4 separate regions of the Homo sapiens genome follow, and all the other regions are linked to region 1. The links are contacts of gene promoters, found by promoter capture Hi-C in blood cells and fetal thymus (Javierre and others, 2016). All regions are on one chromosome and are shown on one strand. The core of a region is centred on a gene start or on the middle of the fragment in contact, and the rest is flanking DNA. Distances in the headings are between cores, read along the strand shown.

The links. Contacts are between HindIII fragments. The CHiCAGO score rates a contact against its expected background, and 5 or more counts as called.
Region 2: a contact is called between a fragment that was not itself captured here and the fragment with the promoter of CCT8 in region 1, in 4 of 17 cell types (naive CD4 T cells, erythroblasts, M0 macrophages and 1 more). The highest score is 6.4, in naive CD4 T cells.
Region 3: a fragment that was not itself captured here is called in contact with the fragment with the promoter of CCT8 in region 1 in 1 of 17 cell types (monocytes); the score reaches 7.4 in monocytes.
Region 4: a contact is called between a fragment that was not itself captured here and the fragment with the promoter of CCT8 in region 1, in 1 of 17 cell types (M0 macrophages). The highest score is 6.0, in M0 macrophages.

The regions. Positions count from the first base shown.
Region 1 is chr21:29,072,186-29,075,301 of GRCh38, reverse strand. It overlaps CCT8 (chaperonin containing TCP1 subunit 8), which reads left to right and starts at 1,654. Exons shown (of 15, transcript NM_006585.4): 1 at 1,654-1,771. The coding sequence starts at 1,712. RefSeq lists enhancers at 1,429-1,598, 759-1,670, 2,049-2,218, 1,671-2,582. The HindIII fragment of the contact is 10,437 bases long and covers 1-3,116 here.
Region 2 is chr21:29,851,402-29,854,517 of GRCh38, reverse strand. The region is part of intron 1 of GRIK1 (glutamate ionotropic receptor kainate type subunit 1); the gene reads left to right. Among named protein-coding and RNA genes, the nearest start is that of GRIK1, 87 kb to the left of the region's middle. The HindIII fragment of the contact is 225 bases long and covers 1,321-1,545 here.
Region 3 is chr21:29,815,707-29,818,822 of GRCh38, reverse strand. The region is part of intron 1 of GRIK1 (glutamate ionotropic receptor kainate type subunit 1); the gene reads left to right. Among named protein-coding and RNA genes, the nearest start is that of GRIK1-AS1, 69 kb to the right of the region's middle. The HindIII fragment of the contact is 4,266 bases long and covers 1-3,116 here.
Region 4 is chr21:29,660,709-29,663,824 of GRCh38, reverse strand. All of the region lies in intron 4 of GRIK1 (glutamate ionotropic receptor kainate type subunit 1), which reads left to right. Among named protein-coding and RNA genes, the nearest start is that of GRIK1-AS3, 4.9 kb to the right of the region's middle. The HindIII fragment of the contact is 461 bases long and covers 1,267-1,727 here.

The DNA.
Region 1 (3,116 bases), core at 405-2,904:
GTGGGTTATAGGTATGAATATTTGCTATATTAGAAATTAAAACTGATAAATTTTTAACGTTATTTAAAAAATAATAATCCTATCACATGATAATATGTATGTTTTTATTTAAAATATCTCTATTTTCCAAGAATGAAAAGGGTGGCTGTATTAGTCCGTTCTCGAATCGCTATAAAGAACTACCTGAGACTGGGTAATTTATAAAGAAAAGAGGTTTAATTGGCTCACAGTTCCACAGGCGGTACAGGAAGCATGGCTGGGGAAGCCTCAGGAAGCTGACAATCAAGGTGGAAGGTGAAGGGGAAGCAGACACATCCTACAAGGCTGGAGGAGGAGGAAGAGACAGAGTGGGGAGGTGCCACACACTTTTAAACAACCAGGTCTTATGAGAAGTCACTCACTATCACAAGAACAGCTGGGGATTATAATTCCACATCATATTTGGGCAGGCAATTCAAACATATCAGTGGCATTTACATTTTTGCAAAAATCCAAACCATATCAGTGGCATTTACATTTTTGCAATTTTTTTTTTTTTTTGAGACAGGGCCTCACTCTTGCCCAGGCTGGAGTGCAGTGGCATGATCTCAGCTCACTGCTGCCTCAACCTCCCAGGCTCAAGCAGATCCTCCAACCTTAGCCTCCCAAGCAGCTGAGACTACAGGTGCATGCCACCAAGCCAAAGGGATTTATATTTATCTATAAATTCATATATAAATCAGATATATTTATATAAAATGTGTATATTATATATATAAATCAGATAAATAAATATGTATTTATATCTGATCTTAAAAGAGTAAAAGGGATTTATATTCCCAGGAAGAAGTAGAAAAGAGGAATATAGATAGTGGTTAAGAACCGGCATTTTGCAATAAGTCTGATCTAGATAGGAATTCTAGCTTTAATATTTACTAGCTCTGTGATCTTGGGAAAATTATTTACAGTTTGTGAACTTCAGTTTCCCTTCTACAAAATAGAGACAGTACCATTTAATTTTTAATTTTTAATGGTATCGTCTCCATTTTATGGAAGGAAAACTAAATGGTATTTTAACCGACAATTCATTAATTTTTAAGACTGACCATTAACAGAGATACTGCATGTAAAGCAGATCACACAGAATATGGCACACTTGAGCACTTGATGTGTACTACATTACTCTTAGTGACGACTTTAATTATCGTGCGCATTCCCAGCGCTTCCTATGGTGCCCAACACAGAGCGGACGCCTAGAGACAATTTTGGGGGATGGGGCAGATGCTCTGCCTCGGGAAAAAAAAAGCACACCTGCCCTGACGTTGGTGGCTGGGTCTGGAAGATACGTGGAAATTAAGCTAAGGATGTGTGGCTTCCAGATCAAAAACCGCAAAAATCTAACGCCGTGACTACTGACTACGGTCAGAGAGCACAGACTGGAGCAACCTCTCACGGCCTGGGCTGTCTGCGCGTGCGTGAGCCAGAAACCCGAGGGGCTCCCTGGGCCCGCCCTATCGATCGACCCGATCGGGGATCGTCAGCTTGGTTCTGGCCACAGAGGTTGCTCTTCTCGCGATGCTTCAGACCTGGCGGCAGGGAAAGGGTGGGCTAATTGGAGAGCCAGGAAGAGCGTGAGGCGGCCCCACGCTGCTTTCCCAGAAGGCTGTGCGTGCTCCTCGCTTCCTCCGCGGTCTTCCGAGCGGTCGCGTGAACTGCTTCCTGCAGGCTGGCCATGGCGCTTCACGTTCCCAAGGCTCCGGGCTTTGCCCAGATGCTCAAGGAGGGAGCGAAAGTAAGGGCTGAAGGAAAGGAATGAGGTGGGAGCGTCAGCATAGGGCTGCGGCGGCCGCGGCGAAGTAGGAGGGCCTACTAACGGGCTGAGCGTGCTGCCCTGGCTCAGCGGCCGGGGGAAGAGAAGATTCCAGAAAGGGAGGTGATTTTGGAAGGGCTCGGCCACCGGAGCCTGCGGGCACTTCTCTTCTTCCGCGACCGGGAGAAGGCCGAGGGATCGGCGGCACGATCGACATTGTACACCTTGAAGGTGGACGGATGTGAAGCCGCGCGTGCGTTTTGCCTCCATCCGTAAATGGGGCTAAGGCCCGTCACCCTTAAAGGAGGTTGTGAGGGTGAAATTGAATAACGTAGATGAAATTGTCTTGAGAACTGCGACGTCGATTATCACATAGCTCGCGAGTTGTAGGATGGGGAAGAACGAGAACTAGCCGATCCAGAGAAGAGAGTGGGAAAAAGGGCCGGGTCTTGGTTGCTTGCTTCCCAGTGAGAAACATACGGCTTTCAGCTTAGTTGACAGAAGCCATGCGTTGTAGCCAAATGAGTTCCGGTCCCAACTTATGTTAGCTGGCTTAATCTAAAATGTAACTTTCTTGGGTTTTGTTTCCTTCGTCTTTAAATTATGGAGATTGGACCAAGAGGTGGTGTCTTTGAGTTCTGTGTAATCTGCAGGATAAGTGATAGAGGGGTGCAGATAACACTTTTGTTTAATGGCCTTTTCTTGAACGTTAGTTCGGTAGCATAGTTTTAAAAAATATCTTACTGCACTATTGATAAATTTGTCTCTTGTGCTATTCAAATTGCATTCCTCTGTGTGTCCTCCAGATTTTGTTAATTCAAGAAATAGATCAGTGTGGTTGAATTTAAGGTTTTATGCGAGGTACGGGGAGCATTAACAGTTTAATAGAACTAGGTTCATGTTTGTAGGATGCACTTTTCAAATAATGTCGGTATAGTAAGTAAATGTCAGGGTTCAAGGTAAATGTTGGTGGAATAATCTTTTGAAAATGATATGGGCTGATTCCCTTGAAAAAATCAGGCTGAGATAATAGCTTCCAATTTGGGTTTTTTTCACTAATACAGTTTTGGAAAACTCGTGTATCACAAAACATTATTTGTCATTCCAGTGCTAGTAGTTTTTTACAGAACACTGAGCTATTTCTTTCAATAAATAGGTACTGAAGGAACTGCAGTGAAAGACAAAAGTCCCATTTGTCGTAGAGTTTATGTCCTTCTAAGGCAGAAATAATGATTAAATAAAAGGAGAATTCCAAATAATGATGAAAGAAACTGCACTATAGTAGAGGATGACAGGAGGTAAAAATGTCTGTAAAAGAAGGATCAGG
Region 2 (3,116 bases), core at 184-2,683, 780 kb before region 1:
TTTTTTTTCTCATTATTTTTGGCAGGCTATTTCTTCAAGGCCTCTCTTCCCTCTACCTGGAAAGCTCATCTGCCAAGTGTTTGAAAGCTCACTCCCTGATATCATTTGGATATTTGTCCCCTCCAAATCTCATGTTGAAGTCTGATCCCAAATGTTGGAGGTGGGGCTTGGTGGGGGGGTGTTTGGGTCATGGGAACAAATATCTCATGAATAGCTTGGTGCTATCACCAAAGCAAAGAGTACATTCTTGCTCTATTAGTTTATGTGAGAGCTGGTTATTTAAAACAGCGCAGCCCCACTCGCTTCTCTCTCTCTCTTTCCTCCTCTCTTGCCATGTGATGCAGCTCCCCTTCCCCTTCTACCACAAGTGGAAGCTCCCTGAGACCCTCACCAGAAGGCATCATGCTTCTTGTACAGCCTGCAGAACCGTGAGCTAAATAAACTTATATAAATTACTCAGCATTAGGTATTCCTGTATAGCAACACAGATGGACTAGGCCGCTCACTACTGACTTCCTTCAGGCCTTTGCTCAGATGTCATGGGGGCAGTGAGGACAACCCTGGCCATCCTATTTAAAATTGTGACCCACCCATGCTGCTTACACAGCATCACCTATTCTTTTTACTGTTCTTCTAATTTTTGCCTTAAACTTATCTCCCTCTGACATGCTATATGTTTCCTTTATATGTTTGTTTATTGTCTTGCTTCTTCCACTAGTATGTAAACTTCAGGAAAGCAGGGGTTTTGGTCTGTGTTTCTTTCATCTATTTTCCCAATGCAGAATGGATATTTAATACACGTTGATTTGGTGAATGCTCCTGAAGAGTTTGCTATCAATATGCTAATAAATGGAGGAAATCAGACATTCCCATGAGTCATATGCAGTTGACTAGAGGAAAGCATAGTTGGCCTATTTTTCTCCAAAAAGCTAGATTGGGGAGATTAATTTATAAAAACACAGTAAGTAGAATTAGTAAATACTTTTACTACTGAAATGATTCTCCACTGGAGGCAATTTTGCCCCCAAGAGATATCTGAGTACTAAGAGATACTTGGCTTCCTAATAAACAGACTTTCAGAATTGACTTTTGAATTCAAAAGGTAGCTGGAGGACTAAGTCACTTAGTTCTTAGTCACATCAGAAGTCATTCTTGGCCAAGGGTGCTGCCACATATCCTACGATGTACGGAACAGTCAACAACAACAAAAAATCAGAACCAAAATGTCAATAGTGCTGAGGTTGAGAACCCCTGTACTGCTATGTAAATGTTAAGACTTTTCTTTCAAGTATTGAGCCTTTACTTACTTGAGAGGAAGCTTCATTATGGCACAAATGTCATAGTTACTTTCTTGGAATTGTGAGAGTGTTAAAGATAACATAAAATATTTTGCCAGTAGAGAATGAAGAAAAGTGGTTTACTTAAATTGTTCAGTGAGGCTACAATTCCTTTTATATAAAAGAATATTTTCACTACTTTTAGAATGACACAAAATAGTACTTTAAGAGTGAGAAGATATGTTGATTTTATGCAAATCTTAAAGCTTTGGGATATAAGATCAGAATGAATTACATTACCAAAAGGTTTTTATCTAGACACTCTACATAGTTTATTGATAAATTTGGTATATTTATCAGGGAAGCTTTATAACTTAAAGAAGCACTAAAATAAAAATATATCCCTACTGCAATTTCAAATCTAACTTTGAAATGTAGTAATTTGACACAAGTGCCAAGATGGAAAAAATTATTCCTCAAACTGACATAAGAAAATATTCTCCTATATCATAATGAAATAACATAACACTTTACTTTGTGTAAAGCATTCACCACTTGAAAAACATTTTGATAAATGTAAAGTTTCCTAAATGACTTGCATATTTATGTGGCTGTTCCTTCATTTGCTTCAGCTTTCAGGCCACATTTATTTACTGCCTACAATGTGCCCACTAGGAAGAAAATATCAGTAGTGCACTCGAGTATCTTCCAGTCTAGTAAGAGAGACAAGATGTACAGAGAATGGAGGTAGGAAGTGGAACTGATAAGGGGCCATTGAAGTTTAGCTGGAAGTTGCAGGATGAAGGAAGTCTGCAGAGTACATAGATTTTAGTCTGAATTTTGGGAAATGTATAGAATTTCTACAGGTAGGGGGCCTTCTTGGTAGGAGGAACAGTGGGTAGAGGTGCCCAAGTTACTCAGATGTGAATAGTAACAGTCACTATTTGCATTTAAGCGCAAGGAAAGTGAAAAGTGCTCTGTGGGAGAGAACTAACTATTTAAGTAGGGTCAGATTCCTAAATAATTTGAATGTCAAGCATCAAGGTAGAAGGAAGAAAGAAGTGACAAAGCAGCATTAAGGAAAATCCTTCAAGAACAAAAGAGATGTGAGCTGAGGCTGACATCAGAGACAACTGTGAACTTAGTGCTGACAATGGGAATGGAGGGGTGGGAAGAAATGTGAGAAACTGTGGAAGGAGAAATAGTCAGACTTGAAAATTTTTCCATAGAGGTAAGAAATCAGGGAGAAGGATCAAAGATGGCACTGATATGTCACATCTAAGTAAGTGAACGGAATGGTAGTGTCTTTAAGAGAAACCAGTATACCAGGAGTCAGTGCAGATTTGGGGAAACAGATAATATGTTTGATTCTAAACAACATGTATTGAAGACAGGACATTTCGTCCAAGGGGTGACATCAAGATTTATGTTGCAATTAGAGATCACCAGTTCAGAAGAGAAGTCAGTGCTAAAGACGCTCTTCTTGGAAATGTTTAAGTAGCTAAGAGAGTTGAGGCCATGAGGTAGACTAGTAGCCCTGGCTCTGGAATAGGTGCTGTACATGAATCTCCTCATAGCTCATGAAGTTAGTTATTAGATTCTGTTTTGCAGAAGAGGAACTGTGATCACACAGCTGGTAGGAGTCAGAACCAGGACTCAAGCTAAAGTCATTCAGACTCTGGCATTTCCACTGCATTATAGGGCTAGAAAAGGGAGCAAAGGTAAAGAACAGACTGAAAGTGAGATCCTAGAAGATGCCATGTTATGGGAAGAGGATGTTGTTCACATTTATTGATTTATATCTCCCTTTTGTCTATTATTGCCTTTGTAAACAATCTG
Region 3 (3,116 bases), core at 440-2,939, 740 kb before region 1:
CCTAACTGTGACCTACACCACAGAAGAGACTCCTAAACAAACCTACTGTGTCACTGTGGGTTCTGTATCTGAATTTCAATCAGGAGGAACAAATCTGTCAGAATCCTTGTGTGTGCCAGTGGTATTACGCTGACCTTTGAATTACAAATAGATACTGAGAAAGAAATCCCAGGAGCAGGCAATATCCATTAAATAACAATTATGAAAAGCTGTTTGCCTTTTGGAATAGCTTTTCCCATAATGAGGATATGAGCAAGCTGGGAGGCTGGGGAGTGGTGGGACTCAAGTAGGGTTTCTAATTCTGAATTATTCATTTCTCAAATGGAGAGAAATCGTCAAAGCTGGGATAGGAAGAGAAAGTCAAGGAGGCCCAGAAGCCTTTCTTAAGGCCAGGATTTATGTAGAAAGGGCCATGGAGACAGGGCTAAGAATCTAGAAGAGTTAGACTAAAAATCTGGCTCCTTTCCTTCGTGAGAATGTACATCATTTGGGATTGATTCAGTGTGATTTTTGATATGTCTGAGTCACCTAAGTAAATTCTGTTTCTCAAAAGGTTTGCTCCCAGAAATTTTTTTTGTCTGTCAACATTTATTATTTACTTTGGATTTGGCCAGACAATATAATGTGCGTTGTTTTACATGGTTGAAATATATGGAATGGCTGGGATTCACCCATATTTCACTTTAAAGTCAACATAGGGTTTTCCCTAAATTTCCATCCTTAGAATGCAGTACACCATGTTGTCTAAGACTCCAGACTTTGGAGTTAAATGGTCCTGAGTTGAATACCTAACTGATCCCTAATAAGTTATGTAGCAAATTATTCAACAATTTTTACTCTGTCACTCATCTGCCAAATAGGAATAATCGTGCCTAACCCATAGGAATAGGGAGAGGACAAAATGAGGGAGTATGTTTAATGCGTAGCCAACTAAATATTGGGTTGGGTATGCATTAAGCGTATTTTCTCATATTGGGCACATAACAGGTTCTGTATAAATGACTCTGTATTTATTATTCAACTTTTGCTGCAGCAACAAACAACCCTTAAATACCAGCGATTTGCAAAAGCAAACATTAATTTATTGATCCCATTTCATGGTGGCTGCAGGTCTGCTGTGATTTTGCCAGGTTTGGCTTGGTCCAGTTGGTTTCCACATGACCCCTATGAATGTGTAACCATTCTCTAGGGTGCGCTGCTGGCATAGAGGAAGACAGCAGCTCGAGAAAGGGGCAATACCAAGATGACTCAGGTGTCTTCTTAGAAGCAGTGTATTGTCACTACCTGCCATTGATCAAAAAGTCACATGGCCAAGCCCAGCACTATTGAAACAGTAAAGTATGTTCTACCTCTTGCAAGGCAGTGAATGGTTAGGAACAATAATGCATTATACATACTAACAATTTACTATTATTAAGTAATGATCATGAAATCACAAAATTTTAATTTGTTTTCGCTTTTGATGGTAATGGGGATTTAAAAGACGCTGTACTTTAATCAATTTCAATATCTATAATTTTTCACTCTATAATTATTTTTTCTTTTATGAGTAGTTTTATGTACTCATGAACTTTTATTCATGCAACATCTTATAATACAGTTATTACTCTTTTGATGCACAAATTGTACCAAATCTGACCAGATAGAGTTGCTTTAAGTTGGCTCCTGTGCCCTTCCAATGTGTCCCCATTCTTCTTTGAGCATTTCTTTACTCTGGCACAAGCTGTGTCCAGATTATCATTTTTTTATTGATACGTAATAAGTGTGAATATTTGGTGGGGTACATCTGATATTTTGATGCATGCATGCAATACGTAATGATCAAATCAGCATATTTAGAATATCTATCACATCAAACTTTATTGTTTCTTTGTGTTGGTAACATTTCATATTTTCTAACTATTTTGAAATATACAGTACATTGTTGTTAACTATAGTCACCCTACTCTGCTATCAAACACTAGAACTTACTCTTTCTATTCAACTGTATGTTTGTACCCATTAATCAACCTCTCTTCATTCCACACTTCCCTTCCCAGTCTCTGGTAACTCTCATTCTACTCTCTTTGTCTATGGGATTGACTTTCTTAGCTCCCACATATAAGTGAGAACATGCAATGTTTGACTTTCTGTGCTTGGCTTATTTTACTTAACATAATGACCTCCAGTTCTATCCATGTTGCTGCAAATGACAGGATTTCATTCTTTATTTATGGCTGAATAGTATTACACTGTGTATATATACCACATTTTATTTACCCATTAATCTGTTGTTGGACACTGAGGGTTGATTCCATATCTTGGTTATTGTGAATAGTGCTGCAATAAACTAGGAAGTGCAGGTGACATGCTGATTTCCTTTCCTTTGGATAAATACCTGGTAGTGAGATTGATGGATTGTGTGGTATTTTTATTTTTAATTTGTTGAGAAATCGCTATACTGTTTTCTATAATGGTTATGCTAATTTGCATTCCCACCAACAGTGTATAAAAATTCCCCTTTCTCCTCATCCTCATCAGTATTTGCTATTTTTTGTCTTTTTGATGATAGCCATTCTAATTGCAGTAAGATGATATCTCATTGTGGTTTTGATTAGTATTTTCCTAATAATTAATTATGTTGATTATATTTTTCATATACCTGTTGGCCGTTTGTCTGTCTTCTTTTGAGAAATATCTATTCGTATCCTTTGCCCACATTTTAATGGGATTATTTTGGGCTTTTTTGGTGTTGAGTCATCTTCCTTGTGTATTCTGGATACAGTCCTTTGTCAGATGAATAGTTGGCAGGTATTTTTTCCCATCAATAGATTGTCTCTTCACTCTGTTGATTATTTCCTTTACTGTGCAGTTTTTTTGTTTAATATGGTCTCATTTGTCTACTTTTGTTTTTGTTGTCATTGCTTTTGCAATCTTAGCCATAATATTTTTGCCTAGACCAGTGTCCTGGATTGTTTCCTCTATGTTTTCTTCTAGTAGTTTTATAGTTTCATGTCTTATATTTAAGTCATTAATCTAGTCTGAATTTATTTTTGCATATGGTGTAATTTTCACTCTCTATTGACCGGTGATAGTTGTTGAGTATTTTTAATTGTGCTCATAGCTATAATCATCAT
Region 4 (3,116 bases), core at 248-2,747, 590 kb before region 1:
GATTTTATACCTCCATGTTTGAAATTGCTGAGTGCCACCCTCTCCACCCTGGATGTTGCATTAAGAATAAAGGACACATTTCTTAGCAGGCCATGCAGAGCTCTCCACATCTGTCCCCACTGTCATTATAACATGTATTGCAAAAATATCTATTATGTCTAATATACCCTTTTAGCCAAAAAAAATCTGTTACAAATTTTAGAAACTATCCTTTCTTACTCCATTAAGGAGATTAAAGTTCTTTCCAAATGTGACCTAAAGGGATTCAAAATCACAAGAAAAGCTGTATCTAATTAATTCTAATATCTCCAGGGATGTCATAATAGGAGATCAAGGTAGGTCTGAATTCTTACAGAAGAAGAACTGTGAGTTAAGCACCTCCTAGTCCCTGGAACATCATCCAAGGGCCTTTCACAGCTGAGTCCAGCATTTATACAGGAGGCTCCCTCACGGGTAGACAGGAAACTTAACAAACTCTGGCAGGTGGATTGATGCATCCTACTTAAGATAAAGCTTTGACTCCTGTGGTTCTAACTTTGGTCTTAAATAACCATATGCTTTTATTTGGGATCTCAAACTCCAGCAGAATTTTGTGCAAATTATTAATTTTCCTGCCACTTGCACCTCCTATTATCAATTAAGAAATTAATAAAGTCCTAAGATCCCAAGATTGAAATCAAACCTGGGTTCAAATACTATAACTATGCTTTATCTCTAAAATCTATAAATTAGGAATAACACTTCCTCTCCAATTAAATGTCAATAACCTATTACTGTAGTGAACATCGTGTTGTGGCACTCAGCAAGCAGTCGCTGTGAATATTATTGTTGTAGCTTAAAAATATGAGCTTGGTTAATATAAATCAGTGGTTCTCAGCACTGGCTGTACATAAGTATCACCTGGGGAGTTTTTAGTAACTATCAATGCCTGAAACATATCCCAGACAAAATAAATCAGAATATTTAGGAATGAGGCTCAGGCATTGGTATTTTGGAGAAGTTTCTTGGTGGTTCTAATAATATACTAAGAAACACTGATATAAATTATTTTTTAAGCCTGATAGTTTTCAGATAAATTAACAAAGTCAAGTCACCCAAAAAGCTGAAGATCAGGCCCCAGACTCATGAAGACTTTACTGGGCAATAGAGATCTCGTGAGACCAGCAAGATCACCATTTAATGGCTGCACCCCTGTCTCTCCTTCAAAAGGTGACTTTCAAGCAAATTTGAGGTATAGTTTTCATTAACATCATTATCAAAGAAGCTTGTTGCAAAAAGATTACACTGAATCATCTGGGGTAGATAATAATTCAAAATATTCTGTTACCTTCCAGCTTCTAGATTTTGTTCAATAATTTGCTGTTAAAATTTGTTTCCTCCGTATTCTCTCTTACATATCATCTTTCCACCAATTTTCCCTAGATGTTGCAGAGAGGTTATTTTTTAGTTTCATGTAATTGCCCCAAAAGTTCCATTCTCTCCTGTTTACCAGATTGCCTATTTCATTCTGCCATGGGAAAACTTCTTTTCCTGCTCTGTTCTCAACAGTCTGCACTCCTTAAATAGCATAATCTCATCTGTTGTGCACCTGGGTGATGCAATCTGGCTCTTCTAGTAGGATCATCTTCCAAGCTAAACTAAACCCCAATGATTTGCACTCCTTTTATTAATATCTATTAGTATGAGCTTCCTTTCTCCTGCAGACCATACCTCTAAGGAGAGAAGCTTATAAAGGAGTTAACACTGAGAAGAACTTCCAAATAGTACAGTTATTTAATTCATCAACTCTTTGTGGAATATCTTTTGCTTTTCTTTAGTTTAACTTGGAGGTAGGAGAAAAAGGGGCTGGATTTATACATCATATAGCACAGTTTTCAAATCCAAGGAAAAACCCTAGACTTGTGGTTAGCTTATCACCTGTGTACATGCATGTGGTTAACACGTGTAAGTGAATGGAGGGAAACAGAGGAACTTAGCAAGTTGTCAACCTCAAATGAAAAAAGTCAATTTTTCCTCTTGATACATGTTTTTGACGTTACCAAAGCTGGAGTAATGTACCAATCACTGGAGTTAGGGTTACAGCGATTTCATATGCCATAATCACAGAAAGATGAGAAAATGAGATGTATTGGTTTTCTATTGCTGTTTAAGCCAAATTTAGTGGCTTTAACAATATATTTGTTTACAGTTACAGAAATCAGAGATCTAAAATCATGTTGTTAGCAGGTCTGCTTTCCTTTTGGAAACTTCTGGGGAAAATCCAACTTCTTGCCTTTTCTTACTCACAGAGGCCGTCCTCATTCCTTGTCTTGTGGCCCCGCATCACACTCCATCTTTCTCTCTCCTTCTATTTACGCATTCCCATTTACACCTTCTCTGCCTTAAGACCCTGCTGTTTTCATTGTGACTACATTGGGCCTACCTAGATAATTCAGAGAAATCTCCCCATCTCAAAATCTTTCATTTATTCACATCTGTAAAATCCATCTCCAGGTAAAGGAACATATTCCATTGGTTCTGGAATTAGGACGTAGACATCTTTAGAGAACCATTATTTGGTCCCCTCCATAAGTAGATGGATATCTTTCTGTATATCAGGATTTTTCTGGTGTCAAATGCTATTTTCTGTATATTCCACTATTACTTTTGTAGATGTAAGCTATAATCATTCAATGTGGCATGAATGTACTTTCTATAGCAATAAACACTGGTCTAAAGACTGTCTTATATCCATCTTGTTCTACTGATGACCACCATTAAAAATTGCATGGCCAAAGAGGCATCTGGCTCAGAGGATAGTATAGATGCAGCCTAAAATATTACAGTTAGCAAATAAAAAAGAGCTACACACTGAAGCTCAAACTTTCATCTTAAAATTGCTGCTCGGAGACTTGATATCATTCACCTGGTTTTCTGAAGACTCCTGTGCCAAAAATACCTTATTTCTATCTTGAGGTAAAACCATTATTTTAGCCACATTGCATGTTCACACATTTGGAAGTTATTCACTTGAAATTATTGATTACAAACCATGTCTGGTGGTTTAGAATTTATCCTGATATTGAGAAAGGCTATAAAAAGAGAAATACACTTCGGCTTAGTCAGTATAAACTTCC